2 separate regions of the Homo sapiens genome follow, and region 2 is linked to region 1. The links are contacts of gene promoters, found by promoter capture Hi-C in blood cells and fetal thymus (Javierre and others, 2016). All regions are on one chromosome and are shown on one strand. The core of a region is centred on a gene start or on the middle of the fragment in contact, and the rest is flanking DNA. Distances in the headings are between cores, read along the strand shown. Region 1 holds the start of ARF5 (ARF GTPase 5). Region 2 overlaps SND1 (staphylococcal nuclease and tudor domain containing 1).

The links. The method cuts DNA at HindIII sites, captures the fragments that hold promoters and counts their contacts. A CHiCAGO score of 5 or more calls a contact.
Region 2: a contact is called between a fragment that was not itself captured here and the fragment with the promoter of ARF5 in region 1, in 2 of 17 cell types (fetal thymus and M2 macrophages). The highest score is 6.5, in fetal thymus.

Annotation. Positions count from the first base shown.
Region 1 is chr7:127,583,745-127,591,626 of GRCh38, forward strand. ARF5 (ARF GTPase 5) reads left to right here and starts at 4,667. Exons shown (of 6, transcript NM_001662.4): 1 at 4,667-4,821; 2 at 5,339-5,419; 3 at 5,741-5,850; 4 at 6,322-6,393; 5 at 7,219-7,344; 6 at 7,469-7,882. The coding sequence starts at 4,755. The coding sequence ends at 7,555. LOC105375490 (a long non-coding RNA gene) reads right to left here and starts at 6,102. Exons shown (of 5, transcript XR_007060511.1): 1 at 6,012-6,102. GCC1 (GRIP and coiled-coil domain containing 1) reads right to left here and starts at 1,852. Exons shown (of 2, transcript NM_024523.6): 1 at 407-1,852. The coding sequence starts at 1,438. It overlaps LOC105375489 (a long non-coding RNA gene), which reads right to left. Exons shown (of 3, transcript XR_007060513.1): 3 at 6,125-6,207. RefSeq lists enhancers at 1-481, 3,488-4,114, 4,115-4,740, 4,741-5,367, 5,368-5,993 and 3 more and a silencer at 4,504-4,993. The HindIII fragment of the contact is 7,240 bases long and covers 2,065-7,882 here.
Region 2 is chr7:128,066,958-128,074,068 of GRCh38, forward strand. The region is part of intron 16 of SND1 (staphylococcal nuclease and tudor domain containing 1); the gene reads left to right. Among named protein-coding and RNA genes, the nearest start is that of MIR593, 11 kb to the right of the region's middle. The HindIII fragment of the contact is 1,410 bases long and covers 4,218-5,627 here.

The DNA of each region.
Region 1 (7,882 bases), core at 3,417-5,916:
GCACATCTTGAGTAAAGGCAATGACAAGAGGTTACTTCTGAGAAAATCCCCTTTGCCTTCGGCCACTCTTCCTAGAGGCACATACCAACAGAAGACACGCTACCTTTTACTATACAGCTGCCACTATACTGCTTCATAGAGCACAGCTGGTAAGATGCCAATGCCCAGAAGTGCAGAGCTGTCTGGCTTCAACCCAGCCTACACTGAGAAGCTCCACATCCTCCTGGAAGCACATATGTCAACACCGCATAGAACAGGACTTCCCAGGTTCACTAGTGGAACTTCTCAGGTGGCATCAAAAATGACAGTATAGACACTTAGCTCTAACTAGCAAAGGAGGAAAAAAACCCTAATATTTCTCACTTCAGGTCAATGGCTGATGTTTGAAAGAGATATGGATAATTACCTTTCTCATTTCCTGCTGTAACTGAGCCTGGAAATGGCTCTTAAGGCGGGCAGCCTCTTCCTGAAGTTCTTGCAGCCGGGGATCTGGCTGATTCTTCTCATCTCGAATGGCCTGCAGTTCACTTTTCAGCTCCTCCACCTCACGGGTCAGCTGCTTGGTCTGCAGTTCAAATCCTTCCATCTGTTCAGCTGCATATGCTCGTCCTGCCAAGGCTTCTCGGGTCTCTTCTAACCTAAGCTCCAAGTCCTGGCGCTGGGTCCTCTCCTCCTGCAGCAGCTTCTGGAGCTCACGCAGCATCAAGGCATGGTCACTCTGCTCTTGGGCCCGATCATGCTGCTGCGTGATAAGCCGGGCTTTGGTTTCTGCTATTTGCTCCTGCAGCCCCTTCAATTCTCCCTCCAGGCGGGCCCTCTCCTCCTCCGCCTTGTTACTGGCATCCTCTAAGTCCTGTTTCATCTTTTTCTTGTCAGCCAAGTAAGAAGCCTCCATGCGGGACTTCTCCTGAGTGACTGTAGCCAAAGAACTGGTCAAAGTAGCCAACTGAGTCTTCAGCTGGTGCAGTCTTTTGTCCACCTCCCCACCTGCAAATGGCCCATCCCCACTGCTACTGCTAACGCCACTCTCGGACCAACTGGCCTCTTCGGACTTTGGAGGTGGTGGTCCACGGGCCGGTCTGTCATCTTCTACCCCAAACTCACCCTTGGTGCTGGTGAGACTGGCCGCAGTATCCAAGCTAGTGGCGGTCCCAGTGCTATCCTCGCTGTGAGTGGAGCACCGGTCATCCACAGAGTCAGGAAAGGTGAGGCCTGGAAGCTGGACACCTGCGAGGCCCACATCTGCCTCGTGGGATACCGACAGCACCTTGATGCTGGCCTCTAATGCCTCTTTCTCCTTCAGCAGGCTTTTATAGGCACGGACCACATCCTTGAGCCGTGCCTGGTACTGGAGAAGCTGCTTCTTCTGGGTCTCTATAGTCTCCAGCAAGTCCTTCTTGCTCGGGCCGCCCCCGAAATTCATCCCAAACTTCTCCATGGAGGGTCTGAACGGATTGCCCCACGTCAGCTTTCCAGCAGAACGGGAGAGGGCCGTGAAGACGCAGGCGGGGGCTTAAAGAAACAGCGAGCGGGCTGTCCGGCGGCGGGCCGCACACCTACTCCACCTAGTTATCCCGGACCTAATGCGGAACGGCCGGACGGACTGGCGAAAGCGGCCGCCCGGTCCCAGGCCCGGAGGGCTGGGGCGGATTCTACCCCGGAGGCGGGGCGACACTGGCACCAGAGGTGCGCACTGCCAGGGCTCGTTAGCGCTGGCCCAGAAGCCGCTCCGCACTCTCCGCTCGTCTGGGCCACAGCAGCCCGGGCCGGCCCCCTCGGCCCACGTCGGCCAGAGGGTTACGCTGAGCTCGGTCCCATCACGACATCCTAACTAAAGCTGCCTGCCGACAACGGCGCTTCCGTGTCCGCTGGAAGTGACGTCAGCGAGGCGCCGCAGGCTCCGCCCCCAGTGGGCCCAAGGTAGGCGGGGCCAAGTCGGCCGGTGGGTGGGCGCGGCCTGTTGAGAACGCAGTGGGGCCGCGAGCGGCAAAAAACAGGCTTGGGAAAGGCGAAGCCAGCAAAGTCGAAGACACCAGAGTGGCACCGGTTTTGTGAGAGCGCCCAAGCTTGACCTCGGGCTACGCTCAGCGAGCGACAGAGCAACGTCGCACTGCATTCTTACCAAACACCCAGGTGAACGACGCATCCAACGATTTGGGAGCTCAGGACCCATGGTCCCTAAAAGGCAACAATTAAGACTCCCATTTAGACCACGAAAACTGCAGTCCTCTATAGCACAGTGCTTGGTACCTAGTAGGCATACAGCCTAATAGTACCCTTCCTTAGTTCTGCTGAGTTGATTCCACAAATATTTACGGAGGGCACTCTATAGCCATGTCTATCCTGAGTGCCAGCTATATACCAGGAGCTCACAAGAGTTTTGCTATTTAGTCTTTACAGTAATTCTTGTAAGCACTATACTCATTAGCACTATTTTACAGATATGAAAACATGAGGCAGAAAGGTTATACGTAACATGCCCAAGGTCACACAGCTAGTAAGTTTAGGAGTTCTAATCAGTCTGATTCTCAACGTATCACGTGCTGTGCCAGATGGTAACACCATTAAGAGACACGACCTTGCCCTCAGGGAGCTCGCAATCTAGTGAGGAACCAGACATACAAATATGTCCTGCTATCACACCAGTATGTCTGGGTATATTCAAAGTGGTATGAAAGTTAAGAGGAAAGAGGCCTGTCTAGGTGAGGCATGGAAGGCTCTTGGGAATAATACTTTGGGATTTGAAGGATGAGTCGTGATTGTCCACCTAACCAGAGATCAGGGAAACTAGCATTCCAGGCAGGTGGAAAAAAATGCAAAGACCTGTAGGGTATCGGAGTTTGACTCACCCAGAAAGCATTCAGTAGCTTAGGGTATGTGAAGGAGGTGACAACAGAGGGGCTGGCACAATAGGTAGGGACCCAACTTATGGCATTTAAATTTTATCTTGGGTTATAGTAAGGCCCTAATGGATTTTAATCTGAAAAGTGGGATGTCATCAAGACTTGTATGACATGTTGGAGGGAACAAGGGGCAGGAAACCTGTGAGGAGACTTTCAGTCATGGGGAACAGAAGGTAGTGACAACAGAGATGGAAGCAAAGAGGCTGATAAAAGAGCTAAATGTAGAATTGACCTAACTTGGTGAACACTAGTTCTGTTATTATATTGGAACTCTCTAAAATGTACTCTTCAGCCTCGTAAAAGCCTTCTTAGGGATGCAAGTCTATGACTGAAGAGAAAAGGAAAGTCATTCACTCACTCATACCTGTTTCCCAAAGTCTGTCCTTGTTACAGACTTTGCAGATCAGGATGGGGCAGGCCCTGGAGGTCTGTTCAGACCCCGTTTCTCAGTGGCCCAAATAACATCAAGCTGTATTATACATAACATTCAGTCACATTATCAAATCATTTTAAGATTCACCATAACCCCTTAAGTTAGAACAAGTCTCATTTTATAGATGATGAAATAACGGAAGAGTTATGAGGAGTGCTGAAGCCAAATCCTCAAGAAATGGCAGAATTAAGATTTGAACTAAAGCCTGAAATCACGTGCTGGCAAGTGGTGGGTGCTCAGTAAATATCTGCTGAAAAAGCAAATGAATGAGTGAAGGTTTTTTTATTCCCAGCTCAGTTTACCTCGAGTCCATAAACAATTGATCCTAGAAGCCCACTGGGAATCCAGAGTAGACATAACACCTACCCTCGCTCCATTGAGAATCTATCAGTCCAGTTCAACTGAACAAGCATTTGTTAGGCCTAATAATGCCTGGCAATGAGCCAGTCTCCACCGCAGAAGAATTTCATTCCTATTTTGCTATTCTCCTCTCAGATGTTAAAATGAGGCAGGGAAATGACATGTGAAGCTCTTTGGGTCTACGGAGTCAAGATCTTCACAAAATCCTGAATGGATGTGCAAGAATAAGCCAGGTCCACAAGTCTGTGGCAAAGTGAGGAACTTCGGCAAAGCGGCCAGCGCCTGGACTGAGAGGCGGGGCCCGCAGGGCGATCCAAACGAAGGTGGACTTCTCCAACAGCCCAGGAGTGGGTCTGTGACCCCGCCGCCCAAGGCCGGGAATCTTACACTGGTTCTGCGGATTGGGAATTAGGAAGTAGGCGTTTTGAGGAACCATGGAAGCTAGCTAGCACTCGGGCACCTTCCCCTACCTCCCGCGCACTCTTCACACGACCACCTACTACGCGCAAGTCCCTCGGTGGAAGATGAGGCAGTAAAGGGAGGACCAAGACCCCTAATCGCAGCTTCCACTCCCCAAAGGAGAGTGGTGCACACGTTCAGTGCTACTGGTTCCCAAGGGCTAAAACCGGAGCCCCTAGGGGCCTGGACGCAACAAACCAAAGCCCAGCGGCCGGCCACTGAAAATGGGGGCAGGGGCCGCTGCGGAGCGATGAATCCTTTCCTCAGCCGCGCTCGGGCTGCCGGTTCGGCGGCCACAGGCCTGGCAGGCGCGTTAGAGACCTAGACCCGTTCCCAAGTAAGGGCCGCACGGGACCCAGGCCAGCAGCGGCAACTCGCGGAGCTTCAGCTCCCCTAGGAGCCAGAGCCGGGGGAGGCGGGGCCGAGAGCCGGGGGCGGGGCCCGGACGGGGGCGGGCCCGCGGTGACGTCGGGAGGGCAGCGACGCGCGGAGGCGGCGGCGGAGCCTCCTCCTGCTGCTGCTGCGCCCCATCCCCCCGCGGCCGGCCAGTTCCAGCCCGCACCCCGCGTCGGTGCCCGCGCCCCTCCCCGGGCCCCGCCATGGGCCTCACCGTGTCCGCGCTCTTTTCGCGGATCTTCGGGAAGAAGCAGATGCGGATTCTCATGGGTGAGGCAGATCGAGCGCGCGGCCCGGACCGGGGCGCCGGCCCCGGCGCAGCCCTTCCGCCCCCGCGTCCCTCCAGCCCCGCTCACCTGGGTCTCTGGCCCCGAGTCACCCACCTCATAACGCCCCGGGGCCTCTGCTCTCGGGCGGGTCCCGGTCTGCATCGCCGACCCCGGGGCCTGACACCCGGAGCTGCGGGCCTGGGTGGGGTGAAGCTCCCTCCGCCCCAGCCCGGCTGGTAAGAAGGGAGGATTCCGCCCTTGGAGACGACTTTTAAAACGAGCGCGGCCTACCTCCCGTGCCCCTTGCCTCCCAGTCCTCTCCCGCTCCGCGCCCTCTTTGGAGTTGGCTCACGCCACCCGACTGCCCTCCAGGCCTCAAAGGTAGATAACGACGCGCACCTGGAGGCGCTCCCGCTCTCCGCCCCAGTCACCATCAGCTGTTGTGGCCTCTCCCTTTCCCTGGTCTCTAGGGGGCTCCCTCGCTCCCATCTCCATCCCTGTGCCCCTTTCCGTTGCAGTTGGCTTGGATGCGGCTGGCAAGACCACAATCCTGTACAAACTGAAGTTGGGGGAGATTGTCACCACCATCCCAACCATAGGTGAGCCCGGGGACGAAGCAGGGAGCGGGAGCGCCGCGGCGGGCCCTCGCGGGGTCTGCTCCCAGTTCTGCCACTTTTCTGGAGCTGACCCTGACACCAGATACAGCTATTTGAGAAGTGGGTCAGGGTATCTCTACGTGGATACCGGAGGCAGGGTGGATGTGACCTAGCCCCGCCCTGTTGACCGCCAGTTCTGGGGTTCTGTTCCCCTGGGCCTTGATCATTGCCTTCTGGTTTTGTGTCCCTGCTGAAATCTAAGTAGTTTTAGTGAGTTCCTTTCTTTCAGGAGTTTTCTCATCTTTTTTTTCCAATTATCTGCAGGCTTCAATGTAGAAACAGTGGAATATAAGAACATCTGTTTCACAGTCTGGGACGTGGGAGGCCAGGACAAGATTCGGCCTCTGTGGCGGCACTACTTCCAGAACACTCAGGTGGAGTGTTGGGAGGGGACTTTCTAACCCCACGGGAAAAGGTGTTAGGGCTGGGAGAACAGAATTGTTGGCCTAGGCTGGGCCCCCAGGCCAAGGAAAAAACCCTTCCCCACTTCTACCCCTTCTGTTTGGCTATCCCCTACTCACTCTTCAGAACTCACCTTAGTCTTCCCCAGCTTGGACTTCTCTTTAGAAGCAGGATTCTGGGACCAGGCTGCCTGATTTAGCCCTCATAACATGTCTTTATTTCCTTGCACATCTTTGGATAAACTACTTCCTCTTTGCAGTGGGGTCTCTAGTTTGTGCCATGACTCCTGTAGAGCTTCTATAGAGTTCTGTAAACTTCTGTAGAGTTTACTAGATGAGAAGGATTGACACAATTACAAATGGGAAGAAAACAGAAAGGGCCACACTACGGTATGTCCCAGGCAGAAGTGATTGCTTCTCCTTTCTTCCTTCCTTCCTGCCCAGGGCCTCATCTTTGTGGTGGACAGTAATGACCGGGAGCGGGTCCAAGAATCTGCTGATGAACTCCAGAAGATGGTGAGTACCCAGAGCCCTGGGAACTGAGCCCTCAGCTTGGGGACAGAGTGATCTCTGTAGTGGTATAGAAGTCAGGGAGCCCCCAACAGGCATTGAAGACCAGGAATATAAGTTTTTCTTTGTGGACAGACACATTGTGTATCTCACCCTGTTTTGGATGGGAGTGACTTTTTCACTTTTTCTGTGCATTGTCTTGTCTTTTTTTTTTTTTGAAATGGGAGTTTTGCTGTTGTTGCCCAGGCTGGAGTGCAATGGTGCAATCTCGGCTCACTGCAACCTCCGTCTCCCGGGTTCAAGCAATTCTCCTGCCTCAGCCTCCCAAGTAGCTGGGATTACAGGCGCCCGCTGCCATGCCCAGTTAATTTTTGTATTTTTAGTAGAGACGGGGTTTCACCATGTTGGCCAGGCTGGTCTTGAACCCCCAACCTCAGGTGATCCACCCGTCTTGGTCTCCCAAAGTGCTGGGATTACAGGAGTGAGCCACTGCGCCCGGCCGCATTCTCATGTCTTTACATCTGAGTCTGAGAAGTTGTGGGAGAGATGGGACTTATATGTGGCAAAGAGAAACATTTTACATTCCTGCCTTTTCCATTTGGAAATGTTGTCATTTTGCCTAGGCAAGTACTCAAATTAGGAAAAGGTCTTTCTTTTCTGGACTTATGGGCTCAGGTCACCTCAAGCTCATTTACAACTATGTCTTGTCTTCAACGGCAGACTGCACAATACTTTTTTTTTCCAATCAAGATGCTAGGAGGTAGAAAGGGAATTCCCCAACACAGTAGAGGAGACGCAGCCTGGGTCCCACCTTCTCTTCTCCTCTCTCAGCTGCAGGAGGACGAGCTGCGGGATGCAGTGCTGCTGGTATTTGCCAACAAGCAGGACATGCCCAACGCCATGCCCGTGAGCGAGCTGACTGACAAGCTGGGGCTACAGCACTTACGCAGCCGCACGGTAGGGGTCCTGCCCACCTGGTGCTGAATCCTGCCTCTTGAGGGAAGCTGCAGGCTGGGACAGAGATATAAAGGCATTCCTTTTGTTCCTGGTTGCTGACCTCTTTCTTTCCTTTTCCCCACAGTGGTATGTCCAGGCCACCTGTGCCACCCAAGGCACAGGTCTGTACGATGGTCTGGACTGGCTGTCCCACGAGCTGTCAAAGCGCTAACCAGCCAGGGGCAGGCCCCTGATGCCCGGAAGCTCCTGCGTGCATCCCCGGGATGACCAGACTCCCGGACTCCTCAGGCAGTGCCCTTTCCTCCCACTTTTCCTCCCCCATAGCCACAGGCCTCTGCTCCTGCTCCTGCCTGCATGTTCTCTCTGTTGTTGGAGCCTGGAGCCTTGCTCTCTGGGCACAGAGGGGTCCACTCTCCTGCCTGCTGGGACCTATGGAAGGGGCTTCCTGGCCAAGGCCCCCTCTTCCAGAGGAGGAGCAGGGATCTGGGTTTCCTTTTTTTTTTCTGTTTTGGGTGTACTCTAGGGGCCAGGTTGGGAG
Region 2 (7,111 bases), core at 3,673-6,172, 480 kb after region 1:
TCAGTTCCCGTCTCTCCATTTCCCGCGCCCCCCTGCAAGTTCTCCTACAGGACTTGATCGTTAGCAAATGGGGCTTCCCTGCTTGCCCTTCTCTCCTGTGGAACTGTTGCTTTTCATCTCTCCTGTTGGCTTGCAGGCACAGTCTGTCAGCTTTGCTGCCCCCATTCTCTGACCTCAGAGAATGCAGAGCAGAGAGAACCTTGGAAACTTTGTTCAACTCTCATTTCCCAGATGGAGAAACTAAGCCCAAAGAGAGGTGCAGTGTGCCCAGCCCATAAGAGGCAGGATTGGCACCTGGATCACAGTTCTAGCCCAGGGCCTTTCTCTGCTCCTCAGCTCCTTCTTCCCATCCAGGCCGCTTGCTGTGATTGTTGCTGGTTGCTTTAGGAATATTGAAAGCAGGAATATGGCCAGACAGCACATGGAAATGATGGAGAATTCTGCCTCTAAAGCCTGTCTGTGGGGACTCTGATGTCACCTTCCCACAGGTAGCCCTGAGCAGCCCCACCCTGCTACCTGGAAGAACTTACAGCCAGCACCCCACTTTGTGCAGTGACTTCCTTCCCAGATGCCTCAGGGCAGTGGCGCCCTGTGCTGGGCTCTTTTCTACTTGGGACCTGCCTGTCCTGCTTGAGGCAGCCCACCTTCCTTGGTACGGGAGCATCCTCCACAACTGTTTTCAGGCAACCTACAGCCTCGCAACCCAGGGCTCTGAGGTTGGCTGAGGCTCAGTAATTTTCTGTACTGCCTCAGGCATTGTGCACTGCAGTAACGCCTGTGCACTTGGGGAAGACAGTATCTCTTCTCCATCCTCCCAGAAAGTAAAAAGGGAAAGGCTTGTATGTGTGTGGGGTCTCCCTGTCCTCCCCCCATTGCTAGTAAATCCCCTGTGTGAACGCTCTCCTTTGGGTGCCCTGAGTCATCAAGGGGAATGTGCATCCCCCTGCTGTCTTTCTCTAGTCTCCATTTCTTAATTATTTTGCCCCCAGTGCCCTCGGCTCCCTTATTTAAGCCAGCCTTACCAGAAGCAGCCTCCAGTGCACCTTCTCCCGCCTCACCCTCCCCGCAACTTCACCATGACCTGGAGGAGGCTTTAGGAGAGGGACCTGGATCTTCAGCTTTGCGCCTACTTGGAAGCACTAGGCATCCAGCTTGGCTGCAGGCTCCAGGCGAGTTAAGGACAGACACAGCTAAATCAACCCCCAGGGCAGTCAGAATTTCCTCCGTGGTTTGAAAGCTGAGTTCTTAAATAATCTTCCCCACACTTACCACATGCATGCACATGCTCACTCTCTCCCTCCCCCCACCCCAAACCCTTCTTTCTTTAGGAAAGATTTCAGAATCTGAAGTCTAATTGCAGAGGGCTAGAAGAAGTTGAGAATGTTGACATTTCTAAAGCCATCATCCATTGCCTGGCTTTCACTTCTCTTCCTTTCTCCAGACCCCTCAGCCCTGCATTGTACCCCAGGCCAAGAATATGCCTCACTGCTTAGAGAAGGAGAAGGACTTGGTCCCCACTGCCTGTTTGACTGAAGTAGTTTCTGTTTTAAGGAGCTGACAGAATCCAGACAATGGGGAGAAGAGGAACAGTTTGGGGTGGGGACAGGGACCAAGTGTATATTTCTGGAGCCCAGGGCACTGAGACTGCTCAGAAAGGGGCCGCAGGAAATGAAACAAGTTCCTGGCCACCCCCTTCCTCCATGTTTGATTTCAGCCACGGAGCTGGGGGCTGCTCCATGCTCTTCTTTTCTCCTCCCCCTTCTCCCCTTCCTCATCCCTGGGAAGGGTGAGACCACAGCTCGGCTGGGTGATCACTGAGGTATGTGTGTTGCCTGGGCATGGGGAGCTCTTCCTCGGTAATTAGGAGACATGGAAATTAACAGCCTGTGCCGTTTGTATTAATTTGGTAAATAAGCCAGAACAATTTCATTAGTGGCATATTAATGTGCTTGGGAGCAGGAGGACACGTCCCACTGTGAGGCAGCAGGGCCCACTGGCTGCTCTAGCCCACAGTCAGGCCAGGTCCAGCGTCGAGCTGCTCTCCTGCAGGGCATGGCTGGCTGGCAGCACCCACCGCTTTGGCCCTGTGATGGGGAAAGACCTCCACTGAAGAGAAAGGGATCTGTGCAGGTGGTACAGGGACAGTCACACACTTGAGCTCATCCTATCAACCCCACTTGCCTTACCTTCACTCGGTATTTCATGGGAGGACTCCCCGGGTGTAAGAAACCCAAAGCTTTCAGAGTCAGGGAGAATAAAGGAGCTCATTAAGCAGGGATTGGCCATTTCTGATGAGAAGACCCTTCTCATCAGAGGTATACAGCTCAGCAAAGCAGGACAGCTGCTGAATGTAACCATCCCACCAGGGCATCACTGGCATTTGTTGAAGGGAAGAGGAAGCAGTTTTGTTACCTCATTCAGTGCACAGGACCCCTCCTCATTTTACCATTAAGGAAACAGTCTAAGAGAGGTCAAGTGAATTACCCAAAAATTCACAGCTAGGACTGGGAGTTGATATCTGACTCCAGAATCCATGCTCTTTCTGCCACCTCATGGGCCAGTCAGTGTGCTCAGCTCTGGAGAAATTTCACAGTCTGGAACAAGCTTCCTTCCCCATGGAGCTGACAGTCTACTTGGAGAATGAAGACATTTAGAAATGAAATAACTGCCCCTACCAGGAAGTAAATAATTTATGATGATCGTGTTGAAGCATTTATGTGCTAAGCACTTTTCTAAGTGCTTAACATATTTATATTAGTTCATTTAATCATAACATCCTTGAGGTAGATGATGTTGCAATCCCAGTTTTACAGTAAATAGAGGCACGGAGAACTTAAGTGGCACCCCAGAATTCATGCAGGTCTAGATAGTCTGGAGCCAGAGTCCACACTTATAACCTCCATGCTGTACACTGCCCCACAAGTGCCAAAGGGAGGGTGAACCCATAGGCATTCAGAGGGTGATTCATGGTAGGCCAGGGATCAGGGAAGCCTTCCCGGAGAAAGTGGCATTGAAGCGGGCAAAGGTGCAGTCCAGGTATTCAGCAACCTCAAAATCCCCACCCACTCTGCCAGCATCAAGAGCAGAGAGCAAGAGATGCTGGCAGACCAGCAGGGCTGCAAGTGAGGCAGACTGCAATGGCTGTCAACATCTGAAGGTCACATTGACCTTCAAGCCTCTAGGCTGTTCGCTTCTTAACCAGTTACCACCAAGCCCCTTCCTCAGTGTGGCACCACCTGCCCCTTCTTATAGTCTCTCGGGAGGTACCCCCCTCCCCCAGAACCATGTGTCTTCCTAGGTCTCAGCTTCAGCATGGGCACTAAGTAGAGGGGAATCGAGAGGAGAGCCCTCATCTGTCCCTCGCCCATGCTGCTTGTGTACATGCACACACATACTCTGGTGCCCTCAAGGCCATATCCACCCACATGTGCACGTCAGTGCATGCTCTCATACGAAGCCTGCTCCCAGCCTTCTAGCAGCCTGTGGTAGTCACCTAAGTCACCTAAGGCCTAAAGTCACCTGCCATTATAGGAGGCCTCCTGTGGAAGCTATTGAGTCCAGAGCTCTTCCTGAAACACTCCAAGATGCCCAAGAGATGAGTGGCTATGTTATAGCAGTTTGCAAATTACACAACACTCCACCAGTAGGATCTCATTTAATGCTTGCAGTAGCCAGTTGGACAAGAAGAAATTTCTTGTCTATTTACAGGAATGAGCCTCCCCTAACGTGTCTTCTGTTTGAGGCAACTTGTGAGACATGTCTCTTTATAGTCTCCAGTTTGAGGCAACTTGTGGGAATTAACTCTATGTGTCTATACAGTATACAGTCGATCTTCATTATTCACCGGTTACATATTTGCAAATTCACCAAAATCTATTTTTGTAACCCCAAAATCAATACTCATGGTACTTTTGCAGTCATTTGTGGACATGCACAGAGTGACAAAAAAAATTGAGTCATCTGGCGGGGCACATTTCCATTTTAGGTGGAACAGGGTAGAACAAGACAACACTCTGCCTTCTTGTTTCAGCTCTGATGATATAAACAAGTGTCCTTCTCACAATCTATTTAGCATCATGTTATTGCATTTTTCATGCTTTTTGTTGGTGGTTTCACAGTCTTAAATGGCCCCCAGCATAGAGCTGAAGTGCTGTCTAGTGTTCCTGAGTGCAGAAATACTAGGATGTGCCTTATGGAGAAGATACATGTGTTAGATAAGCTTCATTCAGGCATAAGTCATTGTGCTGTTGGCCATGAGTTCAGTGTTAATGAGCCAGCAACACATATTAGACAAGGTGTCTTTAAACAGAAACACAGAACAAGGTTATTTATTGATTTGATGAAAATATTGTGACCAGAGGCTCACAGGAACCCAAACCTGCATTTCCCCTAGGAGCAATGGTTCAATATTTGCAAATTCTCTCTATAGAACAAAATTACCATAAATAACAAAATTGAACTGTATGTATATATCTCTGTGTCTATCTTTTAATTAAGAGAAGATGTCAGAGAAATTTGAATCCTTGAGTTGAACAAAGAAATAATACTTGTACAAACATAGACCCACATAATGTTACAGTTAAGTCATAACTTCCTGGCAGTCAATGTAAAAGAGAAACATCAAAGGATGATCACACACATACAACCTGCTTAAACCTCTGCTTTCAATCTCCGTAATTCTCCCAGAGTTCAAGAAGCGTCACACCGAATTCCACAGCCTCGTCCAGGCTGAGGTTTGTGGAGAAGGAGAGACACCGCATGGGGTTTGGCTAGAGAGGAGCCAGCCCACCTTCCCCGAGTGCCTTTGTTTGATTGAGAAATTACTGTGGCTGTGGCAGCTGTAATAAAAGGGAACAGAGCCCCATGGGCGACAGCTTTATCGCCATCTACAACCCAGGATGGATTCGGTGGCAGCACTGTGCCCAAGGCCAGAGATTTCTTTCATCTGCGGCTGGCTGGGCCCAGGGACTTGTCAAGCCCAAGTTAGCATATCGATTGCAGGCGACAGGCTGGTTAAGTGTGAAGCTGGTGCTCACCTGCGCAGGAGAGCCCGGCTGCACCCTGCAGTGTTGGCCCCAGGTGTGGCTGCTCATTGCTGGGTTCCTTCTCATGTAAGCCCTGGAGAAAGGCGAGCATGTGGATTGCAGCCTCAGAGAGCGAGGTGTGAATGTGGGGTTTGCCATGTGGGTTGGGGTCTGAGCATTGGCACCTCACAGGATAGACAGCAACTGTGCGTGCCTGGTTGGTTGCCTCTGCAGCGTATCTCTGACATTCTTGCACCAACCCCAGCAACCCAGTGCTAAGAGCCACACTGGCCCACCACAAGCTGTCTAGTGGCCTGCCAGGCCTGGAGAGAGGCCTTGTGTCCAAGCAGGGCAGACATCCTTGGTTTTAGGGAAAGGACACTTGGCTACTAAAATTGTGGAAGACGAGAGGTCAGGGAATGCGGAAACTGATGTGGGCCTGGGCTCAGTGTTGGCTGGGAACTGTACCAGCCTCATTTGCTTTTGCCCAGACATGTGTCCAGGAACCCCTAAACACAAGGCAAGCAACCTCTCTGTTCTTCCTTCAGCTTCCCCAGAATTCCTCTAGGACCTGCTGCTTCTTGAGCTTAGCATGTTTGATAAAGCTTGGCAAGTTAAGATGAGCAAGAGACAGTCTTCTCATGTATCATTTTGCCCCTCACAGGTCTTGTCCACCCCTACCACACTACCCCCGCCACCTCCCCCAGCCCCTGCAGGCATGACAGTCTGTTCCCCATTCCTGGCCTCCCACTGGAGGAGGCGCTCAGTCTTCCAGTGGCCAAGCTTCTCCTTTGTTCCAGCGCCCTGGGCATTTGCAAGGTGGATCCAAGGTGTTGAAACCTGAGCAACCTCAGATTTTGCCCACCTGCCCTTCTCTCCTACAAGAGTAGGTCCTTCAGCAGGTTAGTTGCCAAAATTAGAGATAGGAGAAACTGGTTTTAACACCCACAGACACTGGACTCTGTCGTGAATTCAGGCACTGGGTCAGCCCAGCCCAGAATTGGGGCCAGCACTTACGCCCAGACTCTACTAGTGAGCTGCAGGGTCCCACGGTCCTGGATGGTGGAGGGGGCAGAGGTATGGCAGTGGAAGGAAGGGCTGCTCCTGAAACAGAAGGCTGTGGAAAGGGGGTATTAGGGAGGGGCAGGGTCTTTTCTGCCAGGAGGCAGTGTAGAGAAGGCATTGGGGAAACCTGGATTCTGCTCTCAGCTCTGTCCCTTAATAGCTACACTTCTCCAGTGCCACCTACAGAATCAACATGGACTGGACCTATATGTTCTCCATTATCTCTTTTTCGTTAATAACTCTAATAGACTCCACATATCCCCTTCTATACCACACTCCAACTTCAGTTGTCATTGAACCTGCATTTCCTCTTGAAGGATCAAATGTGGGCCTCAAGGACGCAGAGGGTATTCAAGGATGGGAGGAAGCGAGGGTCCTGCCTCTCGGGCCCTGCCTGTTTTCCTCCCCGCTACCTTCTCTCTGCACACCCAGACCACCTCCTTGTCCTTCTGGGGAGGCATGTCACCCAGTATCCCTCATCCCTTCTAACCTTCTGTCACTAGCTCCAGCTCCGACCTCGAGAATTCCCAGGTATTTAGACATTCATTTTATTGCTTAATCGAGCTTGAAGGCATTTAAATTAATACAAGTTTTTACATTTGGCAGCAAAGACATTTATAGGCCCCTTTAGCAGGGAAAGAAAGAGGTCAGGAGAAAATCAAAGAAGGAATTTATCCTGGGCAGTGGCCTTCACGATGTGGGAGCAGATCAGCTACCACGAGGGCCACGATCCTGAGGCTGCCCTTTTAGAAAAGCAGTCAGTGCTAGGTCTGTTATCCTGGGTCCTCGGGATGAGACAGTCAGTGGAGGAGGCCTTGAGGCCCGTGGAGATTCCTTGAGGGCTCTGGGGTTCAGCCACAGCCCACACCCTTCTGGCCACTCCTTCTGCGGGATTGTCACTCACTGCCCTTGCGCTGATGCATTTCCTGCCCGCGTCTTTCTGCCTCTCCTGTCCTCTCCCCCTCTCCTCTCCTGCTTTTCATGCAACCACTTTAATTACCTTCATTAGACACGAATTCATT